Regions from separate parts of the Homo sapiens genome. Here region 1 is linked to region 2. Evidence: promoter capture Hi-C in 16 types of primary human blood cells and fetal thymus (Javierre and others, 2016). All regions are on one chromosome and are shown on one strand. Each heading gives the region's core, a stretch centred on a gene start or on the middle of the fragment in contact. The rest is flanking DNA. Distances are from core to core; before and after follow the strand shown.

Region 1 (5,855 bases), core at 1,007-3,506, 81 kb before region 2:
TCACATTTCCGAGGTGAGCCACACTTTGGTTGACCAACACGCTTCTGAAAGTGAAAGGCATTGTGATTAGTAATTACCGGAGAAGCCCGGCTTCAACATGGCCTATCTGGGAAGGTCGGGACCTGTCCGCGTTCCCCTAACTCCCTTTCACCTCTCAACCTTTGCCTATGCTGTATCCTCTGCCCAGAACTCACTTCCTTTTCTTGTTCACCTGACCCCTGCCTCAGCTGAAGTGATCTTCCTCCAGATCCTCTTGATCCCCCAGCTGGGAGAAGTTCTGCCTCTCACTTGCTGCCATGGCAACCTGCATTTCTTTTCCTGGAGACTGTACATTCCCAGGGGACAGGAAGCCCCATCACACCCCTAGACCCTAGGACAATACCCAGAACATGTAACAAACAATTGCTGAGAGAGGGAATGAATGAATGAACAGGCCTGGGTTTCCCCAGCTTCCTATTCTCTGTGCACTCTTGAAGGAGAGACAGCTCTCAGACATCCCTTTCCCTTCATCCTAACACATCTTCAGGACCATATAGTATCCAACTGGGCCACTTCACATTTTTCTTTCTTTCTTTTTTTTTTTTTTTTTTTTGAGACAGGGTCTTTCTCTTTCATCCAGGCTGAGTGCAGTGGTGCGATCATAGCTCACTGCATACTTGATCTCCCAGGCTCAAGGGATCCTCCTGCTTCAGCCTCCTGAGTGGTTGGGACTACAGGCCCACATTACTGTGCTAGCCTAATTATTTATTTATTTTTTTGAGACGGAGTCTTGCTCTGTCATCCAGGCTGGAGTGCAATGGCACGATCTCAGCTCACTGCAACCTCCGCCTCCTGGGTTCAAGCAATTCTCCTTCCTCAGCTTCCTGAGTAGCTGGGATTATAGGCACCCGCTACCACGCCTGGCTAATTTTTGTATTTTTAGTAGAGACGGGGTTTCACCATGTTGGTCAGGCTGGTCTTGAACTCCTGACCTCGTGATTTGCCCACCTCAGCCTCCCAAAGTGCTGGCATTGCAGGTGTGAGCCACCGTGCCCAGCCAGTACTAGCCTAATTTTTAAATTTTTGTAAAGTCAGGGTCTTGCTGTGTTGCCCAGGCTGGTCTTGAGCTCCTGAGCTCAAGTGATCCTCCTGCTTCTGCCTCCCAAAGTGCTGGGATTACAGGCATGAGCCACCGCACCTGGCATACTTCACATTTTCTAGAGTCCAAGAGACTGAATATACAAAGGGATAGTGGTCAGACTAGACATAAAAATAGACATCTGCCCCCCAGCCTGCAGCAACCAGCCCAGGAAGCCTATCAATAACTAACAATCAGCCCCATGTCCAGGACTTAATCAATAACTGATGGCTTCCCTAATTTTTGTCCCTACTTCCAACTTAGGACCAACCAGACAAAGCCAAATATGTCCCCTAGTCAATTGCACAGGATGCCCGCTTCCAGTGAGCCACATACAGCTTCCCAGGCCAGCAGCTTCTACTTGGGGCATCCCTGAAGACTTCCCAGTTTCCACTACAAAGCTTTCCTACTGTACTGCCCATTTTTGAGTCTCTGCCAAAACACCAGTGATGGCCACTGACTCCCTTGCTAGAGCCAGCTTTGAATAAATAGACTTCGCCTGTTCTCATTTGGTTGGTCTTTGTGTCTTTCCGCAATCCTCTGGTCCAGCTACTGTGATAAATAGATCAATAGAGCAATTTCCTTTCTGCTTCCTCTGTGGGCATTCCCATCTTGGCGCAGACTTGAACAATTGCTAAAATCCTTCCCCTTATCTGCCCCCTATGCCCCACTGCCATTAAAGGATAAGATCCCTCTGCAGGCTGGGCTGAGTGAATGTGAACGGAATGCATTGGTTGCCAAGTTCTGCCATATACGCATTTGCCTGTTGAGACCAATCCTGCTACCATGCCAGGGCCAGGAGAGAGAAGCTGAGTGGGATGACCCTGCCTTACTCCTCCTCTTTGGAATTCTCCCTCTCTTAATTCACACAGGCATCTCCAGCCCAGCCCCTCCCAGGCACGGCCCCACTGGTTCAAGTTCTCACAGAGACCCTGGATTTCTGCCCTGTTCTGTTCTCTCACCCCACCTTCCTAGGGATTCTCTCACTCCCTCCTTTTACCCTAAAAAGGGATTAAGATGAAATCATTCTGTGGTCACTAGATGTTGTCTGTGCCTGAGACTGAGCGTGGATCCGTTTCAGAGGCCTGCTGGGTTCCCCTACACATGGAAATAAAGAAAAATCTTGAGTTTCTTCAAGGAGAATTCCAGGCACCTTGCTAATCTGGAGAAGTATATGAGCAGCCCGGTAAGCAAGAAGATAACAGTCACTTCAAACAATAGCCAAGGAAGTGAGAGCCACAAGATGTGTGGTTCCCCAGAAAACCAAGGGTTTTAACGTACATCCCTGAGTTGTTTTTCAGAAACCTGGACCCCCACTGTATTAGTCCGTTCTTGCATTGCTACAAAGAACTTCCTGAGACCGGGTAATTTATAAAGAAAGGAGATTTAATTGGCTAATGGTTCCTCAGGCATTATAAGAAGCATGGATGGGGAGGCCTCAGGAAACTTACAGTCATGGTGGAAGGCGAAGAGGAAGGAGTCATGTCTTACACGGCTGGAGAAGGAAAGAAGACAGACCAGGGCGAGGTGCTACACACTTTTAAACAACCAGATCTTGTGATGACTCACTCACTATCACGAGAACAGCAAGGGAGAAATCCGCACCCATGGTCCAATCACCTCCCACCAGGCCCCTCCTCCAACACTGCAGATTATAATCCAACATGAGATTTGAGTGGGGACACAAATCCAAACCATATCACCCCCAGATGGAAAATGCCATCTGCTGGTATGTAGGCCACTGATAAGGAGGAAGTGAAGACTGAACTCTGATCACTATTCTTTGCTCTAAATTTCTTCCTGAGGGCCCTGGAGAGACAGTCACTCCCATAGGCCAGACCTTAATATTCCTTCCTGCTGACCCCAAGTTTTTAGATGAAGCTTTCCTTCCTTAACCAATTGCAAATCAAAGAATCTTTGAACCCATGTATGACTTGTAAGCCTTGCTTCAAGATATCCTGGCTTTTTAGGCCAAACTAATGTATAACCTCCAGGTATTGGTTTATGATTTTGCCTGTAACTTCTGCTTTCCTGAAATGTACCTCGCCCTTAAAAACTCTTGCTTGGAGGGTTAACATTGGGTTAACACCAATTTCTCAGTTGCTGTGTTGATGCTCAAGGCTCACAAGTGCCCCCAATCTCTGGGGAATGGTCTTGCCTGCAGGGGAGTAGCCCCTTCTTCTGTGTGGCAGTGGGATAAGCTAGAGGAAGTGGGGAAGAATGGCTGGTGGTCAATGACTGACCCACCCGGGGAGAACCAAGGGCCACACTTCAGCCTCAAGGAAGGACCCATTCATGCTCACAGCTTCCGGGGACCAGGCTGGAGTCAGGGTCAGGGGAGAGCTCCTTGTCACTTAGCCTCTTTCCCCACTCTATCCTGCTTTCTTCTCCTTGTCTCTCCAATGATGGGCATTGGACACTGAGCAGATACAACCAGGGGTCAGTTCCTGTCTGTGGGTGTAGGACGGATGGGTGATGGGAGGGTGGATGGGTTTGTGTGTGGACAAGTGGACGGATGGAAGGATGGGGTGGAGGGTGGATGGGCAGATGGGTGGGTGGATGGGTGAACAGGTGGATGGGTGGGTGGAGGGAAGCCTCCACCTTCAAATGGAAGCCTTCAAATGGAAGGTGTGGGTGTTGTCACCAACACTGCAAACCCAAGCCCCCTTCTGTGACCACCTCTTTTCTATAATCTTTCCTCTTCTCTCCCTTCTTCCCCAGTTTCTCAGTGACTTGTCTTCACTTCCCCTTTTCTCCTGTGTGTCTATTTCACTGAATTTAAATACAAATTAAATCCATATTCTTCTCATTCTGGTGAAATCGCTTGCCAGTGTGGGAGTCTGAGCAGGGACAGCCCTCATTTCTCCCGGGGCTTTGCCAGCAGGAGCTCCTTCCTCCCTCTTCCCTTTGCTCATGACCCAGCATTTCCCTGTCTGCCAGGGATGCGTTGCCCACATTCCCCAACTTCTCATTGATTTCCTCTGCTTGACTTGTTTCCTGTTGCCTGTTACTCAAGTTAAATCCTTGTTTTATTCTAAATTTACACCAATTCAAGTTAGTTTACCTCTTAGGCGACTCTTGCTTTGCTCCAGGCGGCTTCTGATTCATGCAATTATTGAGCAGGTCTGCAGGTGAGGGGGCTGAGCATTTGGTCCATTTGCTTCAAACCTGTGCAGTCTCTTCTTCACCCACCCATCTACCCATCCACTTACCACCCCATCATTCCATCCATTCACCTGTTCACCCACCCATCTACCCATTTACCCATCCACGCACCACTGCATCCTTCCGCCTATCCACCTGTTCACCCACCCACCCACCCATCTACCCTTCCACCCATCCACTTGTTCACCCACCCATCTACCGATCCACCCACCACCCCATCCTTCCACCCATCCACCTGTTCACCCACCCACCCACCCACCCACACATTTGCCCATCCACCCTCCACCCCATCCTTTCATCCATCCACCTGTCCACACACAAACCTATCCACCCTCCTGTCACCCATCCATCCTACACCCACAGACAGGAACTGACCCCTGGTTGTATCTGCTCGGTGTCCAATGCCCATTGTTAGAGAGACAAGGAGAAGTGAGATGCAGTATCTCCCTTCAATGAACTCTCATCTAGAGAGTGTCATCTTTTATCCTTCACTGAGAAAGACTGATTATTAACTTCCCCTCCCCCACCCTCAGCTTAGAACCATTGCAGCAAATGCTCTTTCCCAGGCACATAACTGAGCCGCAATCGTGACTGGGACTGGAACTATCAGATCCTTGTGTTGCCTGGATAACATTCTGCCATTCTTTCACTTCATTCATGCACCAAGTATGGACTGTGTGCCTCCCATGTATCAGGCATTGTGTGAAGAACTGGGGATAAAAGGGTTAAAACTGCTGGGCGTGGTGGCTCACACCTGTAATCTCAACACTTTGGGAGGCTGAGGTGGTGGGGGTGATTGCCTAAGGCCAGGAGTTCAAGACCAGCCTGGGCAACATAGCAAGGCCCCCAACTTCACAAAACATTTAAAAATTAGCTAGGCATGGTGGTGCATACCTGTAGTCCCAGCTACTTAAGAGGCTGAATTGGGAGGATCACTTGAGCCCTGGAGGTTGAGGCTGCAGTGAACTCTGATCACACCACTGCACTCCAGCCTGGGTGACAGAGTAAGACTTTGTTTCTGAAAAACAAAACAATAAAAGAAATGTTAGAAGGACACGGCCCCAGTGTGTGGAAGCCAGCAGTCCCTGCCCAGCCCCTGGAGCACCAGGCACTGCCTAATTCATCTCAAGCCTCTCCCTCTGCGATTCATCAAGCAGAGTCACTGTGCTGTCTAGTAAAACTTCTGGGGTGTAATCTCCTTCTGGGGTGTGACTCCTTGAGGGCTGAGACCCTTTCCTGTTTGTCTTGCTTCTCACAGTGGCCAGCCCAGAGCCTATGTCATGTGGGCAGCCCATGCGTGTGGGATGAGTGGTTGAGGGAACAAATATGACACAGGCAGCGTTTAGGGCAGAGAGGAGGAAGTAAAGTCATTAGCCAAATAGTCAAGACTCCAGCACCTTGAGTCCTGTCCTCAGCCCACACTAGCTGGGTGACCTGAGGAGGATGACCCAACTTCTCAGGGCCTCAGTTTTGCATCTGTGAAACAGGGGTGACAGCAGTCCCCGTCGCGGGGCTGCTGTGAGGGTTCAATTAGCTAGTATAAATAAAGTGCAATAGCAAAGACGTAGAATCA
Region 2 (5,765 bases), core at 343-2,842:
AAGCCAGGAGAGCCAGGCTAGGAGCATGTGATTTCCCATATAGAAGACTCATTAAGAAAGATTATAGGCCGGGCGCGGTGGCTCACGCCTGTAATCCCAGCACTTTGGGAGGCCGAGGCGGGTGGATCATGAGGTCAGGAGATCGAGACCATCCTGGCTAACAAGGTGAAACCCCGTCTCTACTAAAAATACAAAAAATTAGCCGGGCGCGGTGGCGGGCGCCTGTAGTCCCAGCTACTCAGGAGGCTGAGGCAGGAGAATGGCGTGAACCCGGGAAGCGGAGCTTGCAGTGAGCCGAGATTGCACCACTGCAGTCCGCAGTCCGGCCTGGGCGACAGAGCGAGACTCCGTCTCAAAAAAAAAAAAAAAAAAAGAAAGAAAGATTATAGAGAATTATCAAAAGATTCCAAATCCAGCATTAGGTCCCAAGGCCTCACACACAGGACTGTGGAGCCTCCGTCTGAAATCCAGAGAGCTGGGATTCACAGACACCAGCAGCTCAGGTGTCAGGCAAGAAGTGGGACTTCAGGATCTGCAGCCCTGGGCTCCCATGGGGGCTCTGCCGAGCTGCCGGAACTTGGACAAGTCATTTAATTCCCAAGAATCTCAGGTCTTCCTCGGGAGAAGGTGAACTAAATTTATACCCTGCTCCCAGCGTTACTGTGAGGATTCGGTGTACGCGGAAGCCCATTACAGCCTAGAGCCCTAATTATTAATAGGTGTGTGTGAGAGGGAGGCCTCATTATTACCAGGTGAGAGACAGGGAGCTGGGATCGCCTACCTGTGAGTGGAGGAGGCTCCCTCGAGCACCTCCGTATCAGCGGCGTGGGAAAAGCACGTGGAGCGCCCACCGCGCTAGGCGCATGCGCGGAGCAGGAGCGCTTACCAAGCTGGGCGCATGCGCGGAGCGGGCGCCTCTGGGCGCGCTCCCCGTGGCCCCGCCCTCCCCACAGAGCCGCAGACTCGAAGCTTCACACCTTTATTGTGTCCGGGGGCGTCCGGGGCCTCAGGGGTGTTCGTAGCCCGTGGGCAGAGGGTTCACGTGGCTATTGTGGAACAGAGTGTGGTTGCCGTCCCCCCAGGGGTAGGGCTGTGGAGAGAGCGGGGGAGGGAGCGCGCGTGAGCGCCGTGAGTCCGGAGTCCGCGCCCCGCGCGACCCCCCCCCCGCAGCACCCCCCCCCGCCCCCGCAGCACCCCCCCCCGCCCCCGCAGCACCCCCGTGCCGCCCGCGCGCCCGTCCCGCGTACCTTGGTGCGGATGCGGAGGTGTTGGTAGGGACGGAACTCGGGGCGCGGGCGGTGGCCCGAGTGGAGATAGGAGTTGAAGGTGCAGAGGGCCACGCTGGGCAGCGCCAGCACGAAGGTCAGCAGACGCCAGGTACGAGCTGCGGACGGAGCGGGGTGAGCGCGGCGGTCCTGGGGCGGCGGGCCTGTGAACAGGTGGGCAGGGTAGGGGAGCCCCCGGATCCGCCCGTTCCCCACTCACCTCCTGCTCCTCCGTGGCCTCCTTTGGCAGCGCTGGCCAAGCCCCGGGTCAGGGGCCTCAGAGGCAAAGCCATGATGGTGCGGGGAGCCGGGAACCAGCGCTGTCCTCGCTCCCTTTCCTGGGGCCTGGGGTCACCTCCCCTCTCTGGGCCAATCACCTGTTGAGTCTGGAGCACTGGCGGCTATTCTTAGGGGTTTCTATATTTAAAATGGGGCCTGACTGGCTTGAGGTCATCTCCAGACAGCTGTTGTCCTGTGCCTCTTATTTTGGCAAGGAGGCATTTAAGTACAATATGCCATTCTTTTTATATAGTTGCAGGGAAACTATTTTGTTCCCTATTCTATGCCTGGTGGCTGGCACACAGTTGGGCTTTAATAAATATTTGTAGAATGAATTAAGTGTCTTTTTGAGTCTCAGTGTTTTCAGCTGTAAAATGTATAATAATTCGTACCTTAAAAGATTTTTTAAATACTGGAGACGGGGATCTCACTATATTGTCCAGGCTGGTGTGGAACTCTTGAGCTCACGTGATCCTCCCGCCTCAGCCTCCCACAGTGCTGGGATTACAGGCATGAGCCACTACACGGCCCTTACATCATTTTTATGAAGTTTATGTAAGGTAGGAATGTGTCAACCTGGATTTTGGCAGGTAACAGTAGTTCAGTATATGTATTAGTCACAGTTCTTTGCAAAGAACAGAACTCACTCTTACTAGTTTTAGAAGATAAGTAATTGAGAATCTTAGGTAGCTTACTATGTCTGATATAGCCAGAGATGCCTACAGTCTGCACAGTCATAAACAAGTCATTCCGTTGGCCAGCTGCAGTGACACCCCCACAGCTCACACTGCTGGACCCTGGATGCCAAAAGCTTCATTAAGGCTGCCCTGGAAAACCAGAATTTTCCACCCTCATCCCCTCTTGAAAACAGATTCTTCATGAAACCTGTATCCTGGGTCGCTCTTTTCTGAAAGAATTATGTGATTGCACCAACTGGCAACCCCTAGGTCCCCCAGCTGCAGGAGGGGATGGGAAACTGAGCTCTGGATTCTGCCTTAGGGAGGCAGGAATTGTAGGGAAAATCTCCAGGTCTAGGATGAGTATTCAAAAGGTTCCAGGCAGCCACAAGCCTGACAGGTGTCTACTGCAAAGTGCATTATTTCAATCTGAAAAATATGACTACTTGGAGAAAGCAAGCCTAGACAGGGCTGGTGTGAACCCTCTATCAAAGCAGGTCACAAGAAAGCCACAAGACCAGGCAGGGATGACATCTGCCTGTTCTGTCCTCAGCAACGGGCAGGGACCTTGGCATGAAGGAGGTGTTCTAAAAATATGTATGTAATGAATGCTTGAACCTTGTTACTTTGGTTAACCCTACAACAATGCCTTTTCAGAATTACAATCCAATAGGAAGCTTCTAGCTTTGATCAAGGGCTGATGTACTAATATGAACTTAATATACAAAAGAAGAATGAATTATATAGACATATAATCTGAATTTAATATATAAAAAAAACGAGGAAGATATATTTTCAAGAAGGGGCTCTATACCTGTTTCTCATTGGTAATAAACTGAACAGTATGTTCCATCCAACTTTAAGCTGCTGCTATTTTTAAAAAAAATAACCTCCTTGAGCAGTCAAATGTTATACAGTGTTACAAAAATTATTCCTGAGCTCTCACTGAGCTATAATAGAATTCTTCCTACAGTTTTTTTCCCAGCTGGACTTTGGCATTGTTGCAGAGAAGATGGGGCCCTATTCCAGTTAAAGATACCTGGCATCTCCCTCTACACATAGCCCCCTCCCTACGTATATAAGATAATGGCTCCTGGAGAAAACAGACATGAAGACAGGTATTTTTACTTGACAAAGTTCTAGAGGCCTGGCATAGTGGCCCACGCTTGTAATCCCAGCACTTTTGGGAGAATGAGGAGGGCGGATCACTTGAGGTCAAGAGTTTGAGTCCTGCCTGGCCAACATGGTGAAACCCCATCTCTACTAAAAATGCAAAAATTAGCTGGGTGTGGTGGCCCGTGCCTGTAATCCCAGCTACTCGGGAGGCTGAGGCAGGAGAATCGCTTGATCCCAGGAGGTGGAGGTTGTAGTGAGCCAAGATTGTGCCACTGCACTTCAGCCTGGGTGACAGAGTAAGACTCTCTCAAGAAAAAAAAAAAGAAGGAAAAAAGGAAGAAAAGGTTCTAGGTTTCTTTTCTCCCCTAAAAGGCCCCTCAGAGTTTTTCTGGTTGCTGCCAAACAATTCCCTGGGAATTCCCATCCCTTTGTTCTCAGCTTGGGAGCTCCTGTGGAGAGGTTTTCTTGCTGGGATGTCAAGAACGCCCTGAGGAGGGCCACTTCTGTCCTGGGCTGCTGTCACCATCACGAGGTGCACTTGCCCAGGTACCCAGAGACCTCCGCTCAGGTGGTCTGTGCTTTTCTGGGCTTGTCACCATCTTACCTGCCTCTCTAGAGGGTGTGCAGAGCTGTCTCTTCCAGGCTGTGCACTCACCATTGTTTCTGTAAGTTCTCACTCACACAGTTCTTAACCTGGCTGCTGCCAACACTTTCAGTTTCTAGAGGTTTAATTTTTCCTCCACTTTAGGCAGAGGGAAGAACAAACTCACCAGGTGCTAAATAAACCCCGGAGGGCAGCATCTCAGCCTCTGTTCAGAGTATCTCAGCTGTTGGTGGTGAAGGAGGTGGAGGCATGACTCAGGGTCAGTTTCTCTTGTGCCCTCTTCCTGGGATGCTGCATACCATGACCACATTTTCTAAAGCAAAGATCGATTACATGTGATCTACTAAGTATAAATGTTTATGGGGGCCCTAGGGACAGCGTATTTGAAATTAGAATAGTCCTGGAAAAACAACTGTGATACAGGACATGGGTTAGCTAGAACGAACAGGTACAGAGAGATGGAGCTCAGACAGCATTGGGGTGGGGTCCAGTGGCAACAGGGACATAGACTCTAAATAAATGGGGCTCTGAGCTCCCTCTGCACTTGGGAGGGGCCAGTGGCTATGTGATAGTGGATGTCTACTGTTTTGTGTCATATGACCAATATATCTATGCCTTCTTTTCTGATACTGACACACACACCCCTGCCCCCCTTATTCTCAGTTCAAGTTCAAGTGGGGTTGACTCCCTCCTCTAGCTCCAAGAAGGGCCACATGATCCAGGCCTACCCAATCAGAGCATTCTATTCTCCAGGTCATAGTGATTTTTTTTTTTTGAGACAGAGTCTCACTCTGTCCCCCAAGCTGGAGTGCAGTGGTGCAGTCTTGGCACACTGCAACCCCTGTCTCCCATGTTCAAGTGATTATTCAGCCTCAGCCTCCTGAGTAGCTGGGATTACAGGTGCACACCACCATGCTTGGCTACTTTTTTGTATTTTTAGTAGAGATGGGGTTTCACCATGTTGGCCAGGCTGGTCTCGAACTTCTGGCCTTAAGTGATCTGCCTGCCTCGGCCTCCCAAAGTGCTGGGATTACAGGCGTGAGCCACCCCACCTGGCCGTAGTGATTGTTTTTTGTATTTTGTTTTGAGACAGAGTCTGGCTCTGTCACCCAGGCTGGAGTGCAGTGGTGTGTTCATAGCTCACTGCAGCCTCGAACTCCTGGGCTCAAGCATTCCTCCTATGTCAGCCTACCAAGTAGCTGGGATTATAGGCACAAACCACTGTGCTCAGCTAATTTTTTAATTTTTTGTAGAGATGGGTCTCACTGTGTTGCCCAGGCTGGGATGATTGTTGTAGGGAGGGGCACAAGTCCATGAGTTCCAATTTTCAGGCCTGTCTCTTGGACTGTTGAAACACAATTATACTTCAACTGGACTTGGAGCTGCTGGAGCCTCAGGCTGGGGCCTTCAATTGAAGCCAATATTGAAGCCATTTTCAGAGCAGACCTGAAAAATGGGAGATCTAGCCTTGTTAATATTATGTGAATCCCTGAGTCAAGATGTGCCGGAATTGAGAAAGAGCTGAACTCTTAAGACTTTTCAGTTATGTGAAATAACAAATCCCCTATTCGTAAAAGCCAGTTAGAAATGGGGCTTTAAGTCCTAATTTATTGTTAAACATTTTTTATGAAGCTATACCACATCTCTAAACTTTTACCAGCACATTTCTGATTTCTGTTCCCCTGTACTGTGATCCATATTTTATTGAAGTTTTGGGGCTTCTTTTGTAGAAATGATAGAAATGTATTTAATAAACATTCTGGAGTATGCATGCCTTTAATGAATTAAACCTCATAGGCACTTGATATGAAGGGATTTAATGTT

Evidence for each region. Contacts are between HindIII fragments. The CHiCAGO score rates a contact against its expected background, and 5 or more counts as called.
Region 1: a fragment that was not itself captured here is called in contact with the fragment with the promoter of COX6A2 in region 2 in 5 of 17 cell types (M2 macrophages, M1 macrophages, megakaryocytes and 2 more); the score reaches 8.1 in M2 macrophages.

Annotation. Positions count from the first base shown.
Region 1 is chr16:31,344,876-31,350,730 of GRCh38, forward strand. No RefSeq gene overlaps it. Among named protein-coding and RNA genes, the nearest start is that of ITGAX, 7.4 kb to the right of the region's middle. The HindIII fragment of the contact is 1,480 bases long and covers 1,517-2,996 here.
Region 2 is chr16:31,426,768-31,432,532 of GRCh38, forward strand. COX6A2 (cytochrome c oxidase subunit 6A2) reads right to left here and starts at 1,593. Exons shown (of 3, transcript NM_005205.4): 1 at 1,486-1,593; 2 at 1,248-1,384; 3 at 964-1,090. The coding sequence starts at 1,558. The coding sequence ends at 1,007. The HindIII fragment of the contact is 1,386 bases long and covers 968-2,353 here.